Linked DNA regions of Homo sapiens: regions 1 and 2 are each linked to region 3. The links are contacts of gene promoters, found by promoter capture Hi-C in blood cells and fetal thymus (Javierre and others, 2016). All regions are on one chromosome and are shown on one strand. The core of a region is centred on a gene start or on the middle of the fragment in contact, and the rest is flanking DNA. Distances in the headings are between cores, read along the strand shown. Region 1 holds the start of HDAC11-AS1 (HDAC11 antisense RNA 1). Region 2 holds the start of LOC107986064 (a long non-coding RNA gene). Region 3 holds the start of CCDC174 (coiled-coil domain containing 174).

Region 1 (4,754 bases), core at 707-3,206, 1.2 Mb before region 3:
GGATACTGCAACAAAGAGGCCCCCAAACACAGCAGCGTGCATAACACTTATTTCTTCCCCACGTGATAATGCGGCCGGTTGGCCCAGGCTTTCATGGTGGTTTGAAGGTGTTCACAAGCTCCAGGGCCTCCGCAGACCACTTAACTCTTTAGCTACCAGGACACAATTTTAAAAACCCTTGGCCAGGCATTGTGACTCATGCCTGTAATCCCAACACTTTGGAAGGCCAAGGTGGGAGGATCGCTTGAGCCCAGGAGTTAGACACCAGCCTTAGCAATATAGTGAGGCTGTGTCTCTTAAAAAATAATTTAAAAATTAAAAAAATTTAAAAACCCACTTATTCAGACCAATCCCACTCTCTTTGGCCTCAGCTTCAGGTCCAGGCTGCCCAGATCCTCATTCTCCCAACCAGAGGATCATCTGTGTGGCTTCCCAAACTACAGAGCAAGTTCCCTGAGGGGAAGTCGGTCTCTCACAAATGCCACAGGGCCACTGCATGCACTCTGTCACTTTATAAAATAGTACTTATTCCTTCTGTGGTTTACATCTGCCCACATCCCTGACCTTTGAGTGAGTTACTTCACCATTCTGTGCCTCAATTTCTTTATCTATAAAATGGGGATGACAATAGTTTGCCTCCTAGGACTGTCAGAAGAGTTCGACAAGCAAAAAGCATTTGGACTTCAACTTAGCACATGACAGATGGTCTCTGAATAATAATCAACATTATTGTCTCTTGATTCCCTGGACTTGCCCATGAAATCCAGAGAATGAAGTGCAACCAGAACTTCATTTTCTTCCTTTTTTTTTTTTTTGAGATGGAGTCTCACTCTTGTCGCCCAGGCTGGATTGCAATGGCGCGGCCTCACCGCAACCTCCCCTCCCCGGTTCAAGCGATTCTCCTGCCCCAGCCTCCCGAGTAGCTGGGATTACAGGCGCCCTTCATCACGCCCAGCTAATTTTTTGTATTTTTAGTAGAGACGGGGTTTCACCATGTTGGTCAGGATGGTCTCGAACTCCTGACCTCAGGTGATTCACCCGCCTCGGCCTCCCAAAGTGCTGGGATTACAGGCGTGAGCCACCGCACCCGGCCCAGTACTTCATTTTCAGATGCAGACATGAAGGACCAGAAGGCTGAAGCAACCTGCCCAAAGCCACTATGCTGGCGGGTGGCCGAGTTTGGGTTTAATCCAGGCCCGAACCTCAGTTCCCTCAAGATAAAGTTGGGGTGATTATGGCACCTTTCTCAGGATTAGGTTGTGAGGCTCAGATGCCATCATGCAATCATGGCAGGCACACGGGGGCCCCTCTTCAAACGTCTGTGCGCTTCCCTTGTGCCCCGCCCTGGCACACAGCCGCCCCCGCGGAGCCCAGGGATCCCAGCCCGGCAGTCCTCCGTCAGCTGCTTCTGTTTGGATGGCGGGGACGGCTGGGCCGACAGAGAGGCCCATTGTCTCCGTCCTCTGGGGCTCTATTGTTGGGGCCTCCTCCTGGGTTGCAGCCCCACGGACAACCCCAGCTGTCGCTTGGGCCTGGCTCAGCTTACCCCGGCGGTGAGGGTGCGGGTCGGGGACGGAGACGCGTGCACCCTGAAGACAGTAACTAGGCCTGCTCTACAGAGGGAAACGCAGGCTCTGAGAGCCTACATGTCTTCGCCGGGAGTGCTTGTCCCGGAGCTGCTCGCAGACTGGGCCGGGGGTGGGCTCGGGTCGGAGAGGTCACGGGGCTCCTTAGGTCACAGGCGGCAGGGCCAGAGAAACTCCCCCGCCCCTACGTTTAACTCGCGGAAACAAGGGCCCAGAGAGCCCAGACGCCAGCCCAAGGTCACACAGCGAAGCCCCGGCACAGCCCGCCGGGAACCTGTCGTTTCTAACCCCCAGCCTCTCGCCGTTTCTACCCAGCTTGGGAAGCGCAGGAACAGGACATACGGTGGTCGCGCCCCTTCCGCGAGGCCGGGGTGAAACCCGCTTGGCCCTCCCGCCAGGGGGCGGAGCTTCCGAACCAGGCGGGATTCCACCGGGTATTTGCCTGCGGAGGCGGGACTTCGGGCTTGATGGGCGTTGGGGGTGGCCTTCCTGCGGGCAGGCTCTCTGTGTCGCAACACTGGCGGGGCGGGCCAAATCGGCCAGAGCTCTGCCCCCAGAGGACGCGGCTAAGCCCGGGGGCGTGTCCTGGGCTGGCCCCACCCGCGCCCCGCCCCGCCCCGCCCGGTCGCGGAGCTGCGGCCAGCTTTGGGAGGGCCGGCCCCGGGATGTGAGTGCCGCGGGGCGAGGGCGGGGGTGGGCTCCCAGGGGTCCCGGTGGGCGGGCGCGCTAGGGCGAGGGCGGGGACGGCCGGGCGGGCGCGCCAGGTAAGGGCCCAGATTTGCTGGTGAGGGGTGAGGGACGCTCGGGACGGGTGTTTCCAGGCCCTCCCGGCGCGCCAGGCCAGCCCCGCGCCCCTGCTCGGTGGCCCGAGGGACGCGCGCCGGCCGCGGGCCTGGGCCCGGACCCGGAGCGGTCGGGCGATGTGCGCGGGTCTGACGTCTGCGCTGCCCAGCCCCCTGGCTACGCGGACGCCCCCACGGAGGCAGCCACTGGGGCGGATTTCTGTCTCTGGGTGACGACTGCCAGGGTGTGATGGGAAGGGTTAGCAGCGCAGCGGGGTCAGGGGATCCCCGCCCCCCGCCCTGGCTCAGGTTGGGTCCCGACTTGGGTTTCTGAGTGCTTACTGTGCTCAGCTCCTCAGTTGCATTCTCTGAGTCCTCACAACAGCCACACATTTTGCAGCCGAAGCCTTGTGCCACACAGCTGTGGGGGCATTTATTACGGTGCAGAGGTGATGCGCGGAGGCCTTGCAGCCAGACACACCTGAGTGCACGCCTGCTTCTCCACAGACCTGCACTGTGACCTTGGGCACACCTGGTCTGCTCTCTGAGCCTCTGGTGCGATTGTGGTGCCTACCCCCAGGGCTGCTGTGAGGACTGGATTGGAATTGGGTTCCGGGAAAGGCAGCCAGTTTAAGCAGCTGTTGTTGAGGGGCCCTTGTCTGCGGCTGAGGGGCTAGTGGTGCTGGGCAATGGCTGGTGGGTCAGTCCAGGCGGGCTCGGGAGGGAGCTGCTTTCTGCCGAGGCTGCCCCAGCTGTGCGTCTGTCTTTTTCCACACGGTAGGCTACACACAACCCAGCTGTACCAGCATGTGCCAGAGACACGCTGGCCAATCGTGTACTCGCCGCGCTACAACATCACCTTCATGGGCCTGGAGAAGCTGCATCCCTTTGATGCCGGAAAATGGGGCAAAGTGATCAATTTCCTAAAAGGTATGGAAGGTCCCCCTTGGACTCTCATCTGCTTCCTCCAACCCACCTGTCCTCTCCGTCCTCATCCCCAACATAAGCCTCAGGCTCTCTCCCATCTTCAGTTTCAGCCCTCGGATGGCCTTCCACCCATGCTTCCGCCCAAAATGATTTTTCCAACACAGACTCCTAATCACGATATGATGTCCCTGACTCAGACTCTCCCTGGCTCCCCATCCTGTGGGCCTAAGTCCTGCCTCTGCCCAAGAGGCCTAGTGGAAAGGTAGCTGATTACTGATGGGCACAGGGAAGGTGAAGCTTGGAGGAGTCCATTTCCTAAGGTTCAGAGAGTCAGGAGGTAGAGCACCTCCACCGCACCTCTCTTGATTACAGATGGGGGAAATTGTGTCCTAGAATGATTAGGAAACATGTGCACCCAATTCCAGTCCAGTCCTCACAGCAGCCCTCGGGGTAGGCACCACAATCGCAGCAGAGGCTCAGGAGCTCACTGTAACCTCCGCCTTTCAGGTTCAAACAATTTTTCTGCCTCAGCCTCCCAAGTAGCTGGAATTACAGGCGTGAGCCACCACACCCGGCCCTGATTTCTTAATATGGCACTCATTATAAGATTGTAAAAGCCCACCTGTAGACCGAACTGGGCACACTGGCTGCCTGCTTGTGACCTCTTTCCAGGGAAGGACACAGCTCCCATTAGTGGCTGAAGTAACACAGTTACAAGAGGCGGAGTTGGGTTTGGAACTCAGAGCTCCAGGCGCCCTACCTTTAGGGCTCATCCCCTTGAGCAAAATGATGCTTCGAAGAGCATATCGTTTTAACTGTGGTTTGTAATCAAGGGGCCTGATTTAGGTGGGAAATTCACTTAAACTTGTTTTAAAAGGAAACATTATGTCATCAAAATGGGAAAAGGCAGTTTCACTTGCCATAAATAGGTCATGGTAAAAAAGTAAATGCAATGAAAACAACAGTATAATTCAATCCAGGCTGGTTACTATTGCCTGCAGGCTGTGAGACTGATTAGTGGTTTGAACGGAAGATGAGCAAAGCACAGGCAGGTGTTGCGAGGCCATGCCACACTGAGCCTCCTGTAATATCATCAGAAGGTGGAGGGAGGCCGGGCGCAGTGGCTCGTGCCTGTAATCCCAGCACTCTGGGAGGCCAAGGCTAGGAGAACACTTGAGGCCGGGAGTTTGAGACCAGCTTGGGCAACATAGCAAGATCCTGTCTCTACAAAATAAAAATAAAAAACTTAGCTGGGGGTGGTGGTATGCACCTATAGTCCTAGCTACTTGAAATGCTGAGGCAGGAGGATCACTTGAGCCCAGAAGTTCGAGGGTGCAGTGAGCTATGGTTGTGCCACTGCACTCCAGCCTGGGCTACAGAGCAAGACCTTGTCTTGCATTTATTTATTTGTTTATTTATTTATTGAGACAGGGTCTCACTCCCATCACCCAGGCTAGAG
Region 2 (4,636 bases), core at 1,299-3,798, 1.2 Mb after region 3:
TCCTTTCTTTCTCCTTCCCTCTGCTGCCTGCCCTACCCGCCGCTGCCGCCGCCGCCTCCTCACGCCCCCTTCCCGAAATACCCTGGCAGCCCCCGCGGCCGCGCCGTTCCAGCCCGCGGCAGCGGCGGCATCCAAACTCCACAATATTACCACCACCGCCCGCCGCGATTGGCGGCCGCGCGGGGGAGAGGCCAGAGTAAGCCGAGCGCCCATTGGCCACGCCGCCGCGCTCGCTGGTGACCCCCCCGCCTACCGCGACGGGAGGGGCATGCGGAGGAAGCCGCAAGGGTGGGCGCGGGGCCGCGGCTCGGGCGGGGCGGGGGAGTCGGCAGGGGTGCGGGCCGGGGGAGGGCGGCCAGGTGTCCCGGCTCCCAGGCGCTGCCGCCTCAGGCGTGGTAGGCGGAGTCCGGGGCGGAGGTGGCGTGGGGAGGTGGGGAACGGCCCGGGACTCGCACGTGGAGGTGGAGCGCGGACGCCTCCCTCAGCCAGGGCAAGACTAAGGAGCTGGGTGAGGGACCGGAAGGGCTGGAAGGGGTGGGCACCTGGGGGCTGCGGCGAGTGGCGATGGGCGAGCCGGACTTGCACGTGGAGAAAGCGTGAGAATGTGCCCCTGGGTTTGGGGAGGGTGGGGAGCCAAGGAGTGGGATGAGAGGTGGTCACGGAATGGGGGGCGCTGCTGTCCTCCCCGGGGGCTGCAGGCCGAGACCGGGTGAGGGGCGGGGGTGATGCTGGCACTCTGGACGGAAGGGCGTCGTCTTCGCAGCCGAACAGGTTGTGGACGCCCAATCGTTTTTCTGCCCGTAGTCCCAATCCGAAGCTAAGCTGTGTGGTTTTCCCTTGAAAGCTCCCCAGCCAGGCTTGCTGCCTCCACCCCTTTCGCATCTGAAGCATTTTGCCTCCCACTCGAGAGAAATCAATTTTCTTAAACAAACAAAAAAAAAGATGTGCAGGATTTCTAATAAATAGCATCCTTGGATGGAGGAGAAGAGGAATGACTCCCTCATCCTGCCACACACACCCCCACGCCACCCCGCAGCTCTGAAACGGCTTTTCTTTCTTAGCCAGCCGCACGCTGTTGCCATTCCAGGCTCGTGTGGGAGAAGATTGTTGTGCGCCTGGGTCTGTCCGCCCGGGCGGCTCCAGCCTCTGGTTTATAAAAGGTGCAGATGGTTAAAACACAAACGTGTGACGTCAGGGTCGGTTTTTAAAAGTCTCTTCTACCCACTACATCAGTTGTGTCTCTTGGGATGGACTTTAGAGAATCGATTCGAGCCTAATGGCAGTCTAGAGAAATGGAGATCTTCGTCAGGACTATCAGATTATTGTAATGCTGCACTTATAACAAAAAACTTAGATTTAGCCACGCAAAAAAAAAAAAAAAAAAGAAAATAGAGTGCAAGATAAAAAAACACACCTGATTAACTGATAGTACGACCCTTCCAATATTCTTTGAGATATCCATGCTATGGTTCCATTGAAACAATTTCTTACCTAAAATTATGTCCCTCGTCATGATATTTTCTACTTAAAATGGAGGAATTCTCATAACTGTGATCTAACCGTCATAATGAGGCTAAAAAGGAAATCAAACTGCTCTTGCTTTGCATTCTCTTCAGTAGCTCCTTTACCCTTTATTTCAACTCCAGCAGATAAAATAGAGATACTATTTGTCACCCAACCCCTCCTTATCAGTTCAGTGAGGGTGAATGAGTTAATGTCGTGAAAGCACTTGAGTTCTCCAAAACAAAGATGTTGTGATAATATTACTACAGTACTTTGTGATTACAAGTTAGCTTTGTAAATAATTACCAATGTGCCATATCCAGTCGTGTTCTATCTTGGCCTAGGAGTGTTAGGATTTACCCTCATTTATAAGTAAGCCTGTTAAGCACTATGGATGTTGAGCCAGGAATTAATATAGCCCTCCTCTTCCCACCAAATAATCTCTCCTCTAGGTTAAATTTCTAGAATTTAAAAACACAATGAGAACCTGATTAGGAACATGGCAAAGATGATTTTTTGGGAGAATGTAAGTGTGTTTGAGAGTATGAATTTATGGACTAAATATGCATTTTAATAGATTTTGTGATTGAAGCTAATGAAACTTTCCAGGACTCTTTTGAAATTTTCTAATTAACAGTAATTAATGAAAATGTTTTATGATGTACCATCTGCATTATAGTAGGCATGGAGCTCTCCTTATAGATGATGCTTCACACCTAGCTGGGTTCTCACCCTTCTGCACCATGAGCACCATTTAACTTCTCTGTGTCTCAGTTTCAACATTCATAAAAAAACTAAGCTTAACATTTCCTGGCCTACTCATCTCACACCATCAGATAAGATAGTGATATGAAAGGCTGTGGAAAACTCTGAAGGACCATTACACTATATTATTATTATGACAGCAATTACAGGGTACTTCAAATGTTTGTGGGAAATAGAATTAAAGGTTAAAATTGAAATATAAACTTTATTTCTCAACATACGATTTGTCAAGTTCAAGATGATAAGCAATGATACCAGCCATTTAGTTCATCCTTAAAGAACCGAGGGTCCTGGGAATTCATGTCAATGCAGTCTTTTTTACAGTAATAATGTAATGTTAATAACAGAAGAAAAATGCATGCCTTTTAAAGAATTGTTAAGATTAGGAAACAAAAATAAGTCAGAAGGAGCCAAATTAGGAGTATGAGGTGGATGCCTAACGGGTTTCCATCAAAATCCTAACAAAATTGCCTTTGTTTGATGAGAGGAATGAGCAGGAGCATTATGTTGGAGAAGGACTCTCTAGTGAAGCTTTATTGAACATTTTCCTGCTAAAGCTTTTACTAACTTTCTCAAAAATACTTTCATAATAAGCAGATGTTATCATTCATTGTCCCTCCAGAAAGTCAAGCAAAATCTCTTGAACATCCCAAAAGACTGTTGCCAAGACCTTTGTTCTTGACTGATTTGCTTTTGCTTTGGCTGGACCCTTCCACCTGTTGGTAGCCATTGCTTTGATTGTGCTTTGTCTTCAGGATCATAATAGTAAGGCCATGTTTCATCTGTTAGAATTCTTTGAAGAAGTGTACGAGTGTTTTAGGGTCTTGACCCTACTTGTTTAAAATTTCTATTGACAGCCTTTCTCTTGCCTGAAACTGATCTGGGCCCAATGGTTTGGGCACCCATTGAGTTGAAAGTTTGCTCAACTTTAATTTTTCAGTCAGAATTATGTAAGCTTAACCAATTGAGATGTCTGTGGTGTTGGCTCTTGTTTGTGCGGTTAATCGTCAGTCTTCTTCAATTAGGATACAAACAAGATATTTTCCTCACAAATTGATGTGGATGGTCTGCCACTGTGGGCTTTATGTTTGACATCGTCTTGTCCCTTCTTCAAATGAGTTATCCATTTGTAAACTGCTTATTTTGGGGGGCAGGGGGCATTGTCCCCATAAACTATTCATAAAGCATCAATGATTTCACCATTCTTCCACCCAAGCTTCACCATAAACTTGAGGTTTGTTCTTGCCTCAATTTTAACAGAATTCATGTTGTTCTGATACGGGCTCTTTTCAAACTGACGTCTTATCCTTCTTAGTGCTGCAAACTGTATCCTGTTCAGATACATTATAACAAGTTAATATAAGTTTATGTTGGTGAAAAAAAATTGAAATCCAGCGAGACACAGTGGCTCATGGCTGTAATCCCAGCACTTTGGGAGGCCAAGACAGGTGGATCACTTGAGCCCAGGAATTTGAGACCAGCCTGGCCAATGTGGCCAAAGCCTGTTTCTACTAAAAATACAAAAATTAGCCAGATGTGGTGGTGCGTGCCTGTAATACCAATAATTTGGGTGGCTGAGGCACAAGAATCACTTCAGCCTGGGAGGCAGAAGTTGCAGTGAGCCAAGATGGCACTCCAGCCTGGACAATGGAGCAAGACTCTGTCTCAAAAAGAAAAAAAAAGGAAAAATTAAAATCCATGCATATTTTTTCATAATATGCATTTTCCATGAACTTTTTGAAGATGCCTTGTACATTTTCATAGCTGCTGAAAAAAATAGGAAAAAAAAGTCTATACGGCCAGGTGCAGTAGCTCATGTCTGTGATTCCAGCACTTTGGGAGGCCAAGGTGGGCAGATAACTTGAGGCCAGGAGTTTGAGACCAGCCTGGCCAACATGGCGAAACCCTGTCTCTACTAAAAATACAAAAATGAGCTGGGTGTGGTGGCGCATGCCTGTAATCCCAGCTACTCAGGAGGCTGAGGCACGAGAATTGCTTGAACCTGGGAGGCAGAGGCTGTAGTGAGCTGAGATCGTGCCACTGCACTCTAGCCTGTGTGACACAGTGAGACTCTGTCTCAAAAAAAAAAAAAAAAAAAAAAAACTATGCAATTGAGCAAAAATAAGGTGCATATTCACATTCTAATATTTTTAAAATCTTCATTATAAGGCTATTCCTGCTTATAATGAAATATTTACATATTAGGGAAATTCTTAACACCAAAAAAAACCGTATCATCGAAGCCAATGGGGCCAGGAACTTAATTGTTGCCAGTAATCAATTTTTCTCTCTTGTTTTCCACGTCTCTTTCTTTTTCTCTATTACTACAGCCAGTAGCTCCACTGACACATTTTAAGTACTCTGCAGT
Region 3 (4,690 bases), core at 899-3,398:
ACTGGTTCCACTAGTTACAAGTAAATAACACGCCAATAATTAACTCAATGTCTTTGAGTTATTTTTTAACTGAAGGCTCCTTCACTTGCTAGCTGGGAAATGACCCCTGGCATGCCATTTAAGCAACTGAGCCTCATTTTTTTTCCTTTTAAAAAAAATTATTATTAATACCTTTTAATGTTTCACATTTTCTTTCAGAAGATTTGTAACAAAAACACATGGAATTTAGTATGTGTTTCAGTAAAATGGGTAAATACAGAATCTGAACAAGACAAGTCTATAAGGTATAATCCTTCTTGTGGGGACAGAACATTCCACTCCATTAAGAAAAGAGAATCACAACATTATTAGGCCCGATTATCTCATATTGCTTACTGTTCTAATTTCAGAGACTGGCGGACTTGGAGAAATAAACAAATGAAAATAAATAAATAAGACTGAACACAGTCAACTGCCTCAATTCCCCTCTCCTTTTCCCTTTTCCCATTTTCTCCATAAAGACAGATGAGATGAGGATGTGATGAGTCTCATTTTTCTTCTCTCTAATATGGTGGATAATAGGTCCGCTTCTAGGATTCTTGCAAGGATTATATAATATAATCTATGCAAAGAGTCATACACATGCCCCACATATACTAAATGCCACTGTTACAATCATTATGATCACTTTCGTCTTGCTGCTGTAACAAATTGCCACAAGTTTGGTGGCTTAAAACAACACAAACGTATTCTGGTAGAGTTCTGGAAGTCAGAAGTTTGAGATGAGTGTTACAAGACTAAAATCACCGTGTCAGCAATGCTGCATTCCTTCTGGAGACTCTGGAGGAGGGCTCATTTCTTTGCTTTTTCTAGCGGCCTCCTGCATACCTAGGCATGTGGTCCCACTCTCCCTCTTCAAAGCATCTCTGATCTCTGTCTGACTCTGGCCATCCTGTCTACCCCTTATAAGGATGGTTTTGATGATAGGGGACCCACCTGCACAATCCAGGCTAGCTCCCCATCTCAATCGCTTTAATTTCATCATCTCTGCCAATTCTCTTTTGCTATATAAAGGTCACCATATACCCAGATTCTGGGGATTAGAAGGTAGACATCTGGGAGTCGGGGTGAGGGTGATTGGTCTGTCTACCATAATCATTAACATTTTTATCAAGACTAGCTCATTTAACTCATCTAATCCTCACTAAGACCCATTAGGTAAATAAAATTATATCCCCCTTTGGAAACTGAGGCACACGGAAGTTAAGTAACTTGCCCAAGGTCACACAAGCAGTAAGCCGTGAAGAGCGATTCCAACCCAGAAAGTCAGCTTTCGAGTTCACGTGTTCTTTGTTTTTTTTTTTTTTGATCTCGACTCACTGCAACCTCCACCTCCCAGGTTCAAGCGATTCTTCTGCCTCAGCCTCCTGAGTAGCTGGGAATACAGGCGCGCACCACCACGCTCGGCTAATTTTTTTTTTTTCTTGTATTTTCAGCAGAGACGGGGTTTCACCATGTTGGTCAGGCTGGTCTCAAACTCCTGACCTCCTGATCCACCCGCCTCAGCCTCCCAAAGTGCTGGGATTACAGGCGTGAGCCACCGCGCCCGGCCCAGGAGTTCACGTTCTTAAGAGCTGAAATATGTAAAGTGGCCCATAATAAGCACTACATTAATGTTAGCTATTATTCTTGTTATTTCTACTAAGATTAATATAATAATCCTTATCTCGTACGCTCTTTTAAGAACCAACTATTTAACGTGTGAAAAGTGCCAGGCAGCAGGTCCTGGAATTGCAGTTAAGATTCTTCCGGTCCTCCCAATCCACCTTTCCCGAGACGCTCGAGTTCACTTACTTAAGCGTCAGCCTTCCCCAAGATGGCGTTATCTTTGTCGCCAACCCCACATCCGCCCCACCCAATATGGCGTCCATCGCAATCAAAAGCTTTATTCCGCCCTTCTCAAGATGGCGCCCACACCAATCCTTGTTACCTTCCGCCCTCAAGATGACCTTAGCAGTTAGCGTCAACCTCCGCACTCTATGACCTTTCCAAAATGATGGTGAACGTAATACGCACCACACTCTGACCTTCTCAAGATGGCGCTGAGCTGACAAACTCGCGTCGCAAACTCACGCAAACTCAGTGTCGCTGTCGAAGACACTTCCGGTTGCGACGGAGGTAGGCTTACGAGGCCTGTGTCGGGTAGAAAGGGTCCTTCCTGGACCGGGACCCTCTGCCACGACCATGGACCGTAGGAAAAAGCCTTTGGACGTCACGGCCTCCTCGGTGAGTGAGGGTATGAGGTAACTCCACGGGCTCCGGGTTCACCGTGTCTCCATCAGACAAGAATGTCGACCTAGCTTGTTTCTTCACTCGGGGACCCAGAGACCTGACCTCTCCCCTCAAACAGGAACCCCCGAACTGGATTTTCTTCTCCGGCGGGGATCCGGTTCAGTTTTCTTACAGGACCCTGAATTGGGCTACTCTCCTCTGACATGCGCCCGGGCCAGAACCCTCGGACACGGATCTGAACCTGGTGTCCCGTGGGTTAGGAAACTCCGTGCCTCACCTCTGCCCTGCCCACAAGGACCTGCACCTCGTCAGCCTTCTCCCTTACAGTCAGGAGGAACCCTAGCTTCTTTTTGCTATGCAGACATATCCTCTTCCTGGTTTCTCCTCCATCCAGGGACCCACAAAGTCCTCCCAGAACTTTAGAGTGTGACATATTTCGCAGGACCCGAAAGTGTCCAGCGTGCCCTCCCTGGAACTAAACAGTTGTTAATGCAGGCATAGGGAGTTGTGAGGTCTGAAAGGATGTAAGCAGATTTATTACATCAGCTACTCTAGAAAGAAAACTTGTTCTAAGTACACATTTTGTGCCAGCACTTTATATGCACTATCTCATTGAATCCTCCCAATGGCTTTAGGAGGTAGGTGCTATTAATATCTCCGTTTTATGGATGATGAAATTGAGGCCTGGAAAGATGAAGTAGCTTTCCCCAGCTTACAGACAGAAATCTTAGTGATAGCCGGGCGCGGTGACTCACGCCTGTAATCCCAACACTTTGGGAGGCTGAGGCGGGCAGATCACCTGAGGTCGGGAGTTTGAGACCAGTCTGACCAACATGGAGAAACCCCGTCTCTACTAAAAATAAAAAAATTAGCCGGGCGTGGTGGTGCACGCCTGTAATCCCAGCTACTCGGGAAGCTGAGGCAGGAGAATCGCTTGAACCGGGGAGGCGGAGGTTGCGGTGAGCCGAGATCGCGCAATTGCACTCCAACCTGGGCAACAAGAGCGAAACTCCGTCTAAGGGGCGGGGGGCGGGGGGAAGAAATCTTAGTGATAGACCCTTTCTCACTCACTCTACTTGACTCCAAAGCTGCTGCCTTTTCATCATCAGAGCAAATTGCCCAACCTTTGATTTAATCTTGAATTTACTTCAGAGTATTAGGACACAAAGTGAGTAGGAAGGAAAACATATAGGTGTCCCAATATTTGAGTACTAGTTATTATTGGTAACTATTATTGGTTAAAATTGGTACCAGTTATTATTTTGTTTGAAGATCAGGAACCAGAAAGCTATAAATATTAAAGCCAACCTATACTGACAGGTTAGCAGTAATTGTAATAAGAATGCTATTTGAGAATTTACATTTTTTTGAGCATCTCTTAAAGTTAAAGGCAGTTGTAGACTAGGAAGATATGTGGCTGGAAAATTTGGTGTGGTTAAGTAAGCTTAGAAGAAAAAGTAGAAGTTTTTCATTTGTTTTTAAAAATTTCCAGTATTAGGGTCTGCAGTGAAACTGCCCTTTGCATTATTAAATGGTTACCTTTTAAATCGATTTCTTCCAAAACGGAAATTGAACCCAGCCATTTTTATCTTCCTTAACAAATAAAGTGATTTTTTTAAGTATCTGATGATTAAGACAGTGATGAAGTATCTGATTTACAAATGCCCATCCATATAAGCAGCTGTACCTGGACCATTAAAAAGGAAACTGTTGTTATATCCTTTTTTGCAGAGTAGGCAGGGGTAATTAATGTAGCTGAGGGAAAGGTACTAATATTCACCCAACTGCCCCACTCCCTATGCCTTGGCCTTCTTTCCTGTTCTTGAACCGTGTGATTCAGCCAAGCTTACGGTTTTTGAAATGGATTAAGTCAAACGTGGAGCTGTTATAATTCACCCAGTCTATTTTATTTCTAGCTGTTGAAATAATGTGTCTTTAAAGGCTCTGCTCTAAGCTTTCTCTGATCACTCTGCTCAGAAGGAAATGCTCTGTTATCTGAACTTATGTGCTACTTTCTTCCACTCTAGAGTCATTTGTTTTATTTTGTTGGTAGTATAAATTACTTTCCTTGTTACATTGTAGGCTCTTTGAGGCAGAGAGTATGTCTAATTCATGTTTATGTTCTGCTCTTCAGCGTTATTTCTACAGCATTTCACTGTAGAAATAAGTTGTGATGATGAAATGAGTGCAGTGCTAGTCAGAGAGAAGGTGCTTAATAATGCAAGTTTAATCTGAAACTAAAAGATGCAGACTTTATTAATTTATTTTGCTTTATCACTTTCTCCTTGCCTAAGGAAAGCCTCGAGTGTTGAAAGTCAGAGTAAAAATGCATTTGCAGCAGAGGTAGAATGAAACATGACTTAGCTTAATTTGTGTACTGGATTCTACATTTAAACATTTAGTTACTTAAACATTTAGT

The links. The method cuts DNA at HindIII sites, captures the fragments that hold promoters and counts their contacts. A CHiCAGO score of 5 or more calls a contact.
Region 1: the fragment with the promoter of HDAC11-AS1 here is called in contact with the fragment with the promoter of CCDC174 in region 3 in 3 of 17 cell types (total CD8 T cells, naive CD4 T cells and total CD4 T cells); the score reaches 6.4 in total CD8 T cells.
Region 2: a fragment that was not itself captured here is called in contact with the fragment with the promoter of CCDC174 in region 3 in 1 of 17 cell types (total B cells); the score reaches 6.2 in total B cells.

The regions. Positions count from the first base shown.
Region 1 is chr3:13,478,097-13,482,850 of GRCh38, forward strand. It overlaps HDAC11-AS1 (HDAC11 antisense RNA 1), which reads right to left and starts at 1,957. Exons shown (of 2, transcript NR_046690.1): 1 at 1,547-1,957. HDAC11 (histone deacetylase 11) reads left to right here and starts at 2,210. Exons shown (of 10, transcript NM_024827.4): 1 at 2,210-2,253; 2 at 3,150-3,298. The coding sequence starts at 2,252. RefSeq lists enhancers at 1,566-1,625, 2,275-2,931 and a silencer at 2,086-2,575. The HindIII fragment of the contact is 8,461 bases long and covers 1-3,590 here.
Region 2 is chr3:15,859,670-15,864,305 of GRCh38, forward strand. It overlaps LOC107986064 (a long non-coding RNA gene), which reads left to right and starts at 445. Exons shown (of 10, transcript XR_007095831.1): 1 at 445-596. It also overlaps a transcript of ANKRD28 not described here. RefSeq lists silencers at 1-62, 143-462. The HindIII fragment of the contact is 497 bases long and covers 2,301-2,797 here.
Region 3 is chr3:14,649,614-14,654,303 of GRCh38, forward strand. CCDC174 (coiled-coil domain containing 174) reads left to right here and starts at 2,149. Exons shown (of 11, transcript NM_016474.5): 1 at 2,149-2,265. The coding sequence starts at 2,224. It overlaps LOC124909347 (a long non-coding RNA gene), which reads right to left and starts at 2,508. Exons shown (of 2, transcript XR_007095826.1): 1 at 2,056-2,508; 2 at 1-1,613. RefSeq lists enhancers at 1,690-2,348, 1,852-2,251, 2,392-2,461. The HindIII fragment of the contact is 1,793 bases long and covers 1,921-3,713 here.